Regions from separate parts of the Homo sapiens genome. Here all the other regions are linked to region 1. Evidence: promoter capture Hi-C in 16 types of primary human blood cells and fetal thymus (Javierre and others, 2016). All regions are on one chromosome and are shown on one strand. Each heading gives the region's core, a stretch centred on a gene start or on the middle of the fragment in contact. The rest is flanking DNA. Distances are from core to core; before and after follow the strand shown.

What was found. The method cuts DNA at HindIII sites, captures the fragments that hold promoters and counts their contacts. A CHiCAGO score of 5 or more calls a contact.
Region 2: a contact is called between the fragment with the promoter of RABEP2 here and the fragment with the promoter of SGF29 in region 1, in 1 of 17 cell types (erythroblasts). The highest score is 5.6, in erythroblasts.
Region 3: a fragment that was not itself captured here is called in contact with the fragment with the promoter of SGF29 in region 1 in 1 of 17 cell types (total CD8 T cells); the score reaches 5.3 in total CD8 T cells.
Region 4: a contact is called between a fragment that was not itself captured here and the fragment with the promoter of SGF29 in region 1, in 1 of 17 cell types (total CD8 T cells). The highest score is 5.3, in total CD8 T cells.

The regions. Positions count from the first base shown.
Region 1 is chr16:28,552,331-28,555,402 of GRCh38, forward strand. It overlaps SGF29 (SAGA complex associated factor 29), which reads left to right and starts at 1,590. Exons shown (of 10, transcript NM_138414.3): 1 at 1,590-1,767. RefSeq lists an enhancer at 1,559-1,878 and a silencer at 1,899-2,018. The HindIII fragment of the contact is 18,994 bases long and covers 1-3,072 here.
Region 2 is chr16:28,923,663-28,926,816 of GRCh38, forward strand. It overlaps RABEP2 (rabaptin, RAB GTPase binding effector protein 2), which reads right to left and starts at 1,576. Exons shown (of 13, transcript NM_024816.3): 1 at 1,441-1,576; 2 at 741-953. The coding sequence starts at 1,501. RefSeq lists enhancers at 708-797, 828-1,057, 2,036-2,619 and silencers at 1,218-1,437, 1,468-1,817. The HindIII fragment of the contact is 8,433 bases long and covers 1-3,154 here.
Region 3 is chr16:28,130,405-28,133,754 of GRCh38, forward strand. XPO6 (exportin 6) reads right to left here. Exons shown (of 24, transcript NM_015171.4): 12 at 1,930-1,999. Among named protein-coding and RNA genes, the nearest start is that of GSG1L, 68 kb to the left of the region's middle. The HindIII fragment of the contact is 1,747 bases long and covers 845-2,591 here.
Region 4 is chr16:28,944,293-28,947,812 of GRCh38, forward strand. No RefSeq gene overlaps it. Among named protein-coding and RNA genes, the nearest start is that of NFATC2IP, 4.9 kb to the right of the region's middle. The HindIII fragment of the contact is 5,380 bases long and covers 1-3,520 here.

The DNA of each region.
Region 1 (3,072 bases), core at 340-2,839:
AGGTGCGTGCCACCATGCCCAGCTAATTTTTGTATTTTTAGTAGAGACATGGTTTCATCATATTGGCTAGGCTGGTCTCAAACTCCTGACCTCGTGATCTGCCCACCTCGGCCTCCCAAAGTGCTGGGATTACAGGCGTGAGTCACCACGCCTGGCCTAGCTAGGGCTGATATTTAACAATCAGGAAAAAGAGCCCCTGAGACCTTTACAAATGCAAAATTTGCAAAATCCCTCAAAGCATAACCTTCATAAAAGGCAGTAAGTAGAACTGCAGCTGGGTGGATGGGCATGTCATTCACTGACCTGACGCCCACAGAAAGAACTGCAAGTGTGATGGAAGAAAATGATGCATTAATTTTGGGGTTAACATAGTTTCAGTGCTAACGCCTGAGATTCTCTAATAAACAGAAAAATACTGACGGGGCTGAGGTTGGTGGCTCATGCCTGTAATCCCAGCACTTTGGGAGGCTGAGGCAGGAGGATCGCTTGAGCCCAGGAACTCAAGACCAGCCTATGCAACATAGCAAGACCCCCATCTCTACCAAAAAAAATTTAAAAATCAGCAGAATGTGCTGGTGTGTGCTTGTAGTCCTAGCTACTCAGGAGCCCTGATGGCACCACTGCACTCCAACCTGGACAACAGAGCGAGACCCTGTCTCAAAGAGAAAAAAAAAGAAACATGTGATGGCCAGGCACTGTGCTAGGTACTAGGAATACACAGGTGAACACAAGATGATCCCAATCTCATAGGACTTGCAAGTTTATCAAATAATCAACAAATAATTACAGACATTTGTAGGTTATGTAAGAAACTTTAAGATACCAGGATGGCTTTCGATAAAATACCATTGAGGCTACATGTCCATTGCACGTCCATATCCTTAGTACTTTCCTGAGAAGATTCCCTAGAAGTGCGATTTCTGGGTCTAAAGATCTGCTTGTTTTTTGTTTGTTTGTTTTTTTGAGATGGAGTTTCCCTCTTGTCACCCAGGCTGGAGTGCAATGGTACAATCTCCAGTCACTACAACCTCCGCCTCCTGAATTCAAGCGATTCTCCAGCCTCAGCCTCCCCAGTACCTGGGATTACAGGCACCCGCCACCACGCCCGGCTGATTTTTGTATTTTTTAGTAGAGACGGGGTTTCACCATGTTGGCCGGGTTGGTTTCAAACTCCTGAACTCAGGTGATCCGCCCGCCTTAGCGTCCCAGTGTTGGGATTACAGGCGTGAGCCACCGCGCCCGGCCTGTTTTTAATTAATTTTTTAACAACAGACTTTTATTTTTTAGGGCATTTTTAGGTTCACAACAAAATTGAGCAGAAAGTACAGTTTTCATATTACCCCTGCGCCCACCCACCTCCAGCAAGCAGCAATCTGTTCGCTTTCAAGTTTTATTTATTTATTTATTTATTGCATTTTGTTTTAAATAGAGTCTGGGGAAATGGGAGAAAACGCTGAAAACGCACAAGCACTTTGGTTGGTTAAATTAGGGTTCCGCCAAGAGCCGGAGCGGTGTGCCAAGTGAAAACTACATTTCCCACGGGGCAGCGGGTCACGTCACAGAGGAACGACTACGCATGCGTGCAAGGTCCTCCGCGCGCGACTACGCTCATAAAAGGAAAAAAAAGCGTGTGCGGTTCTCGACGTGCCGCCAATCTTCGAACGCAGGTCTGTGATCATCCGCAGACTCCGAAAAAGGGTTCGAGGAACGCGCCTGCTCCCCTCGTCGCAGTTTCCAGCCCGACGAGCTTGTTTTGTCCCGGACTCGGTAGGTGGCGACGGGCCGTGGCCTGAGACCTCCGGCGAAACGCGGGAGCGAAGGGCTGAGTCCTCCCTCCGCGCCGCGGCTCCCGACCTCCCTGAGGCGGCGCTCTAGGGGCGGTGCGCACGCGCTCTGGGCGGGAGGGGGGCGGGGCTCGTGGGGGTGGGGGCGGGAGAGGAGGGCGGGGCCGGGGCTCGGGGAGGGCGGGCCCTGCGCCCGGCCGCTCGAGGTCTGCGCTTGCGTGCTTCCATCCCCGGCGAGGGTGGGAAACAGCGACACGCTGGGCTCGGCACGGACGCAGCTTCCAGGTGGGGTACTCGGACCCGGGTCACGAAGATGCGGACAGAGGATGGGCCCCGAACTCCAGCACTTATTTTATGATTTGCACAAAAATTTTGTATATATATATAGTTCTTAACAAGATACACTAACAGCTCGTCGTTTGCCCAGGAGGCTCAACCTCCCGCCTCGGCCTCCCAAAGTGTGGGGAGTATAGGCGTGAGCCCCCGCGCCCGGCCAAAAAATGCCCGTCTTAAGAACAACAAAACAGCCTCCTTCACCCTCGCTATCCTCCAGTTACCTCCTCCTCGGCTCCGGTTTGCAGCCAAAGGCCTTAGTCTACCCTCACTAATGCCTTTTCTCCTCCAAGTCTTGAACCCTTGAGCCTCTAGTCAGGCTTTGGTCTCCACCACTCCACTAAAAAGGCTTCTTGTCAAAGCCACCAGTGATCTCTAGGTGGCCAAATGCATTGTTAAGTTAGGTCTCAGTCCTGTTCAGCATTTGATGCTGTGGATCACTGCCCCTCCTTGAAACACTGTTTTCATTTGGCTTGCTGAACGTTCTCTTCCTTTGCCTCTGCTCTCTCTGGCTTCTCCTCTGCTGATTCTAACCTAGGCATCATCTCACATTTTTGTTTTTATTAGAGACACGTTCTCTGTTGCTCAGACTGGAGAACAGTGGTGTTATTACAGCTCACTGCAGCCTCAAACTCTTGGGCTTAAGCAGTCCTCCTAACCAAAGCCTCCCCAAATGCTGGAATTACAGGCATGAGCCACCGCAATCCCAGTTTCACATTTTAAATGTAAATACTGGCCAGGCGCGGTGGCTCATGCGTGTAATCCTAGCACTTTGGGAGGCCGAGGTGGGCAGACTGCCTGAGCTCAGGGGTTTGAGACCAGCCCGAGCAACGTGGTGAAATCCAGTCTCTTCTAAAAAAAAAAAAAAAAATTAAAAAATTAGCCGGGCGTGGTGGTGCACGCCTGTAATCCCAGCTACTTGGGAGGCTGAGGCACAATAATCACTTAAACCCAG
Region 2 (3,154 bases), core at 326-2,825, 370 kb after region 1:
AGCAGCTGTTAGAAAGGGAAATCGCATGTTGGGAAGGGAATTTTAGGAAGTTTACTCTGGAAGCCAATGTCAAGGCCACACTATAGAGGAAGATCTGTGAGAAGGTTGGGACAAAAGTCCAGGAGAGAGTTGACGAGAGCCCCACCGCAGCAGGGGCATAGCAGCGGGGGCAGCTCTGACATCTGTTTCAGAGTCTCTGGCTTCTGCTAGAGGAAGGAGAGTAGAAAACAGGATCAGCAGCTGGGGCGTCTGGGGCCAGAGGACCAAGTACAAAGAACGTGGGGCGGAGGTGGGGAAGCTGGTGCATGGCGTGGGGTGGAGGGGGGAGTGTCTGGGGAAGGCTAGAGAGCAGAGCATTAGACTCACAGAGACTGGGCCAGGGCTGATTCTATTTCCCAGAAGTCCAGACTAAAATGAGGTTGGTTTGGGGAACTGAGAAGTTTCTCGCCCATCTTCAGGGTTGATCAATCATCAGTGAGGGACAAGAAATGACATGGGACAAGGCAACAGATAGAAGCTGGGAGCTAAACTTAGCTATAACTGACAGAGCTGCTGCTATCACATGGAGGGCCTCTATGCAAATTTTAAAAGGGCGGCCCTTCCTCTGGGCCATAGGCATGCCCTGTGCCAGGCAGCCCTGCTAACCTATCCCATAGCTTATCTGTGCCCCCAATCCCTTTCTCGTCATGCACTCCCCAGTATGGGGTTGATGGGGAGTCTAGGTGAGTCCCGCGTCTCACCTTTCAGGATGGCCTGCAGCGAGGCCACCTCCTCTTGGCACTGCCGCTGCACCGCAGCCACAGCCTCGGCCTTCGTGCTCTCGCTCACCTCTGCCACAGCCTTCATGGTTTCCATTTCTGCCAGGGCGCCTGCCAGCTCAGCCCGAAGCCGGCTGAGCTCACCTGACTCGGCCTCACCATTTGCCCCTTCCTGGGACCGGGAGTCCTCCAGTGCTGTGGGGGACAGGGATCAGCCTCTCTTCCCATCTCTTACCCCAGGCCACCTACCGGCTTAGCAAGTCCTGCAACCTAGTACTGTTGCCTTCATCTGGGGCCTCCTTCACCTGGGCCCGCCCGGCTCACCTGGCCCCGCCCCTGCCCCGCCCCCTTCCCACTCGCTCTGCCGGGTGCTGCCTACACTCCATCTCTTCGCGGTGGCCAGTTTCACTCAGTCCTCTCTTCGGTCCCACCTGGCCCCGCCCTCCTAGTGGCCGCGCCCCTTCCTCACCGGGCCCCACTTCGCACCTGTCACTGGCCCTACCCCTTCAATGGCCGGGCCACGCCCCCTTTTGCCTGTGGCTGTAGGCCCCGCCCCCTTTCCCGACGGCGTGGCCCCGCCCCTTCCTCCATCATCCCTCTCCACCCCCCATCCGCAGGTGGCTGGCTCGGCCCCGCCCCCAGCATCACCGTTCCCCGCTTGCACGGACGCCCCCTCACGTACCAGCCCCCGGCCGCCGCCGCCGCTCATCGTCGTCCGCGGCCACCGGCGCAGCTGCCGCCATTGCCTCAGCGCAAACGGCGGATTCCCGCACTCCCTGGTGACGGAGCGCACCGCTTCCGGGTCCTCTCGGCTGTTTCCGGATCCGCTCGGCTGTTTCCGGATCGGCCCCGGGCTGGAGGCCCCGGACGGAGGATGGGGGGATTGCCGAGCCTCGGCCGAAGATTCCCGAGTCGGCCCCCGGCCCCGGCCCCGGCCCCGCCCCGGCTCTTCTTGGCTGGGTCGCGCGGTTCGGGAGGACGCCTGCCTTTCAAGCCCGGAAGAGGATCCTTAAGAGGTCTTGCCCGGCGTCTCTCCGTGACCTTGGAAGCCCTGCTCCAATTATGCCTCCTCCGGGACACCGGCCTGCGGAGAGCTCCCCCTCGCTCCCTCGCTGCCCCTGCCCGGAGCCAGCCTTTGATCGGCTCCGGCCGCCCTTCCGCCCGAGCCTGGCTTGCGTTACCGCGAATTGTGGCGGGGCCCTCCCTGCACCTCCGCCCTCTTGGAGCGTCCCTCGGGGCAGGGCCGGGTCGGCTTCATTTTTCTGAGCGCCTCGGAGTCCCCGCGTAGTTAGTCGGAGTCTGAAACTTGCACGTCCCCACCCCCATTTTGTTACTCAGCCAGTCACCGCTTCCTGCTGGCCCCCCTTTCCTCCTCCCAACGCCCTCAAATCCCTCCTCTCCTCTCCGCCTGTGTCTAGATCAGGCTCTTTATCTGTGACCTCCACCCGGACGGTGACAGGCAATTCAGATTTATGTCCAGAGCCTTGGTTCCCCTTCCCTCAAACCTTTTTTCCCTCTGTAAAGGACACGCCAGGAACCTGGAAGTCCTTGATTCTACGTGTCCTCCTGCAAGTCCCGTAAACTCTACTTCCAATGTGCTGACTATTCCAGAATGTGCCCCTTTTTCTCCATCTCCAGCGCTAACACTCCGTCCCAGCTCCCATCACTTCTCCTGAACTTCCGCAGTGTCGACTCCACCCTTTAATTAATTAATTCTCCGTAAAGCAGCTGGAGCGATTTTTGTAAAACAGATAATGCAGTTTGAAAATGGCCAAAGGTAGAACGCTTTTACACTGTTGGTGGGAATGTAAATTAGTTCAACCATTGTGGAAGACAGTGTGGTGATTCCTCAAAGACCTAGAACCAGAAATACCATTTGACCCAGAAATCCCATTACTGGGTATATACCTAAAGGAATATAAATCATTCTATTACAAAGATACATGCACGAGTATGTTCATTGAAGCACTATTCAAAATAGCAAAGACATGGACTCAACCCAAATGCCCATCAATGATAGACTGGATAAAGAAAATGTGGTACATATACACCATGGAATACTATACAGCCATAAAAAGGAACGAGATCATGTCCTTTGCAGGGACATGGATGAAGCTAGAAGCTATTATCCTCAGCAAATTAATGCAGCAACAGAAAGCTAAACATGCATGTTCTCACTTATAAGTGGGAGCTGAACAATGAGAACACATGGACACAGGGAGGGGACCAACACACATGGGGGCCTGTGGGGTGGGTGTTGGGAGGGGGGAGGGAGAGCATCAGCAAGAGTAGCTAATGCATCCTGGGCTTGATACCTAGGTGATGGGTTAATGGGTGCGGTAAACTACCATGGCAGATGTTTCCCTGTGTAACAAACCTGCACATCGTGCACATGT
Region 3 (3,350 bases), core at 468-2,967, 420 kb before region 1:
ATGAGGCTGACTGACTGGTGTGGCATGGAGGTTATTTGAGGGGGTAAATGGCTATGGGAACCAGGGGAAAAAATGTACTCAGAGTTTCCATTTGTTAATAGCCTTTGCACTGGAAACTTGGCTTCTGAGCCACCAAAAATTGGGGAATGCTTTGTCATGGATGAGAGAGCTCGTTTTAAAGCAGGAAATAAGCATTTTTCTGGCCTGGGAGGTTTTGCCACTGGAGTACAAGCCAAGGATCAGTGCTGAGGATGAGATTTATAAATGATCCGGACGAGCCGAGTTCTGTGAAATTGCCAGTAAACAGGCTTTAGTGAAAGCAAGTATGCGGTATTTCCTATAGGAAAAAATAAATCACATTATCCTTCTAGGGAGAAGAGCTCAGAATTATCAGCTATGTCCCAGAAATAGAGTTTCAGATTCACTAGACTTTCACCTAAAGACAGACACAACAGAATGTAAAAACACCAGCTTTTACAAAAGTAAACAGGACACTGAAGGGTCAGTGTGGGGGAGGAAAGAACACCTGCTTGATTTTTTTAATAGATCAAGAACAGTGTCTTCAGGGTCCTGAGTACATTCTAATTTGAATAGTGGTCCTGAAGGAAAGACCACCTGGGCACGATTATTCCCAAAAATGGCTTCTGGAAACATCTGTAGCACTTCTACACAGCCAAATGATTTTCATTAGTGGTGACAGCACATTTTATAAGCATGTTTGTTTTGAAAGTGTCTTTTTAAAGTTTTGTCTTTTTAAATTTCTTACCCTATCTACAAAGTCAGGGCCTACATTCGGGGCATGCCAAGGCCCATCAGCCTCCTGGGGCCCACTAGATTATTTAGAAGCTTATATAGTCATGGAAACCAGCCGTCACAGACCACCAAGGACAGCCTCGGAAAAAGGCTCCTGTGGAGGCTCTGCCATGAATCACAAGCTCATCCAGGAGATGGGCTGCACACTGGGCGGCTCTGTGCTGGGCTGAAACAACAGTTACCCAACACAGGGGCTGCGCACCAGAGCCGGGACAGATCCCATAAGAAGCATGCTGGGAAGAAGGAAGGGCAGTGAGAGTGGTGCATAGCAGCTGATGGGGCAGGGAGGACACATGTGGCTTTCAGTTACTGGTGTTTTCAGTTGACAAAAATGAATGTCAGATGTTAGCTATTTCAACATTTTGTCATTCCCTATTATACCATCATGCGACTTGTACCAACAAAGCCATGGGACCCTGGGTAAATTAACATCTCTGAACATCAATTTCCTCTTATGTAAAACAGGGGTAACTAGTAATAGCACTTACACCTCACAGGACGATGGAGAGAATTAAGTAATATAAGTCAATAACACAGTGCCTGGCATGTAATGAGAGCTACAAATGGAAGCTATTACTATTATTGTTATCAACAAAATAACAAAGCAAACTAACCCTAAACCCCAAGCAGGCAGGGCCTGTAAACAGCAGCCAAAAGCCTTTTCAACCAGCTCTGGTCAGAGCCCCTGGGGCCATTTGCAACAGGTGCAGGGGGCAGGGGGACCACAGGCCATCAGCTGCACTATGGCCTTCCAATTCTAAAGTGAGCAGGAAGCAAGAAAGCACAAGGCCATGTTCTCCCTAGTACACCTGCTGGTTGAAAGGACATAAGGAAACTAATTAGAGGCTTTTTAGTAAGTCCTGTCTCTTTACTCCAAATCAGTTTCTTTTCCAAACACCTCCTTGGAATACACTGTCATGACCTCATCTTTTACCTCCCCCACAGCTTTTCATCATAAGCCTTTAAAAACGTTCCCTGTTTCGAAGTGGGGAGAGATGCCAGTGGGGAGGCTGCAGTGAAGAAATCATGTTCCGACAGCAACGGCAGCAGTAATGAAATATCAGTCCGATGGTTTTTTGAATGTTTGGTTAAATTAGAAAATAAAAACCAGTTTACCTGACCCTGAAGTGACTATAAACTGTTGTAATCCCAAATAAACTTCTAAATTGTCCTGAAGAACAGGGAACTGAAAACAAAGAAACAAAAACAACAAAAATTTTAAGCCATAAATGCAAGTTTTAATAGCATTTTAACATTACAACATTAACACGTAACTATGGTGTGAGGAACAGGATCAAAACCTTTTCTCTGGGAACCTTTAAATGCAGCTAAAAAGCTATGACCCCCCTTCAGTGCCCCCCAACTAGTTTCTATAATTGAAACCGCCAATTAATACACAGAATAAGAAAGAAAACGTATTAGTTCAACCCTTTTTTTAAAAAAAAAAAAAAAGCAAAGGACACTGTGGTATGACTCTTACGTTCCTAATAGAGGAGATCAAACCCTGAAATGACCTACACCTTCTAGAACTCTGAGAAGGGACCATATCTCCCTTCAAATCCAAGGGAACCTCTACCTTGAGAGAAATGTCAGCTATGCCTTATTAAGCACATGGTAAAGTGATAAGATTGGCCAAATTATTTGGAAGTCAGTTCCCTGGCTCAAGTAGCGGTCAGAACGTCATAACCGGAGCTGCATCTTTCTTTCTCAAGCTGCTACACTCACCAGTAAGATTAAAACGTGACTGGCCCCTAAGAAAGGCAGATGGCAAAGTACGAAGCTTTCCAGGAGAGAACACAAGTATAGCTGGGTCATTCAATGCAAAAGATGACCCTATGGCCAGGGGCGGTGGCTCACGCCTGTAAATCCCAGCACTCTGGGAGGCAGAGGCGGGCAGACGACGAGGTCAGGAGATCGAGACCATCCTGGCTAACACGGTGAAACCCCGTCTCCACTAAAAATACAAAAAGTTAGCTGGGTGTGGTGGTGAGCTCCTGTAGTCCCACTTACTCGGGAGGCTGAGGCAGGAGAATTGCTTGAACCCAGTAGGTGGAGGTTGCAGTGAGCCAAGATCACGCCACTGCACACTCCGGCCTGGGAGACAGCGTGAGACTCCGTCTCAAAAAAAAAAAAATTACCCTAATAACTGCCTTGCCTTGAAGAAGTGATGAATTTAATGAAATCTCTTTGAATAACACGCACCACACAGGGAAGGGAATCAATCCTTACAACTAAAGATTCCAGCACGTATAGACACACGCAGAGAAAGCTAGCAATTTGCCAAGAGCGAGCTTTACAAAGGCCAGCTTTTCAGCAATGTAACTTCTATAAGTAACAGCTCCCACTCGGCCTGGCCACTTGCAAGCTACTGATAAAGGTATTAAGGCTTTAGTCAAATTGCTATTATATCCAAGACTAAACAAGGTTCCAAAAGTTGGTTTAATATTTTGTGGAAATGTTAATATTTGTTCAGTTTGAGCATCACTTATGGTAATTATTCTGTTTTTAAAAATTACATAGAGGGGAAAGAGGGGAGA
Region 4 (3,520 bases), core at 645-3,144, 390 kb after region 1:
TGGCTCACTGCAACCTCCACTTCCCAGGTTCAAGCAATTCTCCTGCCTCAGCCTCTTGAGTAGCTGGGACTACAGGCACACACCACCAAGCCCAGCTGCCCAGCTAGATTTTTTTTGTTTGTTTGTATTTTTAGTAGAGACAGGGTTTCATCATGTTGGCCAGGCTGGTCTTGAACACCTGACCTCAGATGATCCGCCTGCCTCAGCCTCCTAAAGTGGTGGGTTTACAGGCATAAGCCACTGTGCCTGGCCCAGACTAGCTGGGTTTATGTGAATCCTGGCTCCACCCCTTTCCAGCTACATGGCTTAAGCTCTCTGAACTGCAATTTCCTGGTCTGTAAAATAGACCATGAAATAGTAATTCAGAAAATGAGGACATTATCAATGAGTCTTAAATGACACGTAAAGCATACAACAGTGGCTTAGCAAGGACTCAAGCATGAGCTCTTATTATTTGACATCTTATTTATTTATTTATTTATTTATTTATTTATTTTGAGACAGGGTCTCACTAGGCTAGGCTAGGCCAGGTTAGAGGGTAATGGCACAATCATAGCCCACCGTAACTTTGAACTCCTGGATTTGAGTAGTTCTCTCACCTCAGCCTCCCTAGTAGCTGGGACTATAGGCGTGCACCACCACACCCGGCTGGCTAACTTCTGTATTTTTTGGTAGAGAAGGGGTTTTGCCATGTTGCCCAGGCTAGACTTGAGCTCCTGGCCTCAAGTGATCCTCCCACCTCGGCCTCCCAAAGGGCTAGGATTACAGTCGTGAGCCACTGCGCCTGGCCAAAAAATAATTTTTTTTTTTTTTAAGAGATGAGGTCTTGGCTGGGCACGGTGGCTCACACTTGTAATCTCAGCACTTTTGGAGGCTGAGGCGGGTGGATCACTAGGTCAAGAGATTGAGACCATCCTGGCCAACATGGTGAAACCCCGCCTCTACTAGAAATACAAAAATTAGCCGGGCCTGGTGGCACACGCCTGTAGTCCCAGCTACTTGAGAGGCTGAGCAGGAGAATCGCTTGAACCCAGGAGGCGGATGTTGCAGTGAGCCGAGATCACGCCACTGCACTCCAGCCTGGCAACAGAGCGAGACTCCGTCTCAAACAAAAACAAAAACAAAAAACAGAGATGAGGTCTCGCTATGTGTGCCCAGGCTAGCCTTGAGCTCCTGGACTCAAGCAATCTTCCCATCTCAAGCATTCCTAGTAGCTGGGACTTACAGGTGCACTTTCAGCTCTTGAGCAAGGTTTGGGGAAAGGAGACTTGAAAATTTTAGACTCTCAGGGCCACCTCCTGCTTGCGGTTTGCAGTGGTTTCCCGGGAGCGCCCAAGACTGGCCTGCCGCCTGGCTACAGAGAGAGGCTGAAGGCCTCCTGGGGCTGGGAAGTCGGTGGAGTCCAGGAGCCTCCGTTTCCTGGAAAACAGCTCCACCTGCTGGCTGTTGTGCGCCTGCAGTCCTGACCTTGGCGGAGTCTGCACGGGGAAGGGAAATGCATGCTGGTCCAGCGGGGGGCGCCTGCAGGGGACATCGGTGCCGCGGTTGGGATGGAGGCGTATGGGATGAGACTAGGGCAGAGGTGGACATGCCGTTCTGCGTGGATGTATGAGGCGCGAGTTTTGTGAGCACCGTGGGTGTGAGCAGCATGTGGTATTGGGTGTGTGCGGTGTGGGTATCCTGAGCGACGTGTGGCGTGGGACGTAAGTGTGAGGCGGCAGGTGGTTATACGGTTGGAGGCAAAGTGGGAAGAGTGAAGTGTTGAAGGGGCGTGTTTGTGTTGTGTTGGGATATATGTTGTGCAGGAGTTGCCAACGCTGTGGATGTGTGGAGGGCGTGTAGTCTCTGAGGTGCACAATATTGTTGGTAGGAGGTGTTGGCGAGTGTGTTTGGGAAATATAATTAAGAAACAAAATATCTAAACCCAACAAACTTCTCCACAAAGGTAGTAGAGACAGAAAACAGTTTTATTATTATTTTTGGTTAAAAAGTTGTAAAATGGGCCTGGCGTGATGGCTCACGCCTGTAATCCCAGCACTTTGGGTGGCTGAGGCGGGCGGCTCACCTGAGGTTGGGAGTTCGAGACCAGCCTGACCAACATGGTGAAACTCCATCTCTACTAAAAGTACAAAAAATTAGCCAGGCGTGGTGGCGCATGTCTGTAATCCCAGCTACTCAGGAGGCTGAGGCAGGAGAATCGCTTGAACCCGGGAGGTGGAGGTTGCAGTGATCCAAGATTGTGCCACTGCACTCCAGCCTGGGCAACAAGAGTGGAACTCCATCTCAAAAAAAAAAAAGTTTTAAAATGTATTATTATTTTTCGTAGAGTTGGGGGTTTTACTATATTGCCTAGGCGGGTCTTAACGCTCAGCCTGAAGTGATCCTCCCACCTTGGCCTCCCAAAGTGCTGGGATTACAGACGTGAACCACTGTGCCTGGCCTTAAATTGTATGTATTTATTTATTTTTAGAGAGAGGGTCTTGCTCTGTTGCCCAGGCTCGAGTGAAGTGGTGAGATCATAGCTCACTGCAGCCTTGAACTCCTGGGCTCAATCAGCCTCCCAAGTAGCTAGGACTACAGGTGTGCATCACGACACCCACTAATTATTATTACTTTTTGTAGAGACAGGGTCTTGCTATATTGCCCAGGCTGGCCTTGAACCCTAGACCTCAAGTGATCCTCCCACCTCAGGCTCCCAGTGCTGGGATTACAGGCATAAGCCAACATGCCCGGGCTGGTTTTATTATTGAATAAGCATAATTTTTCTTTCTTTTTTGACATGGAGTTTCACTCTTGTTGCCCATGCTGGAGTGCAATGGCACAATCTCAGCTCACTGGAACCTCTGCCTCCCGGGTTCAAGTGATCCTCCTGCCTCAGGCTCCGGAGTAGTTGGGATTACAGGTGCCCACCACAATGCCTGGCTAATTTTTTGTATTTTTAGTAGAAAAATACACCACCATATTGGCCAGGCTGGTCTCGAACTCCTGACCTCAGGTGATCCAACCACCTCAGCCTCCCAAAGTACTGGGATTAGAGGCGTGAGCCACTGCACCCGGCTTGAATAAGCATTAAGTTAGAATGTGATGCACATCACTGGCAATCTGGTAAAAGATTGCAAAGGCAAAAAGAAATATCCTTCATTACAGCCAAGCAGGTGTAAACCATTATCCTGTTTTCAAGATAAAATTTCAAATTCCATATTGTTACAGGAGCTGCAGGTTCATATGCCCACTGTGCAGTCACAGCTCTGTGACTCTGAGACGGTGGGGATGCAGCAGAGAGAGTTTAATGATTGCAGGGTGCCGAGCGAGGTGATGGGAGGAGACCCTCAAATCTCTCTCCAGGGAGTTCTGGGCTGGGCTTTTAAGGGGTTTGTGGGGAGTGATGGGCTGGAATATTGGGGTCATTGATTGGTTGGGAAGGGGGATGAAATTGTCAGGGTGTAGAAGCTGCATTTTGCGGGGAGTCAGCTCCTTGTGGGGTCCTTCAGGTCAGCTGAATCAGTAGTTCCATCAAGAC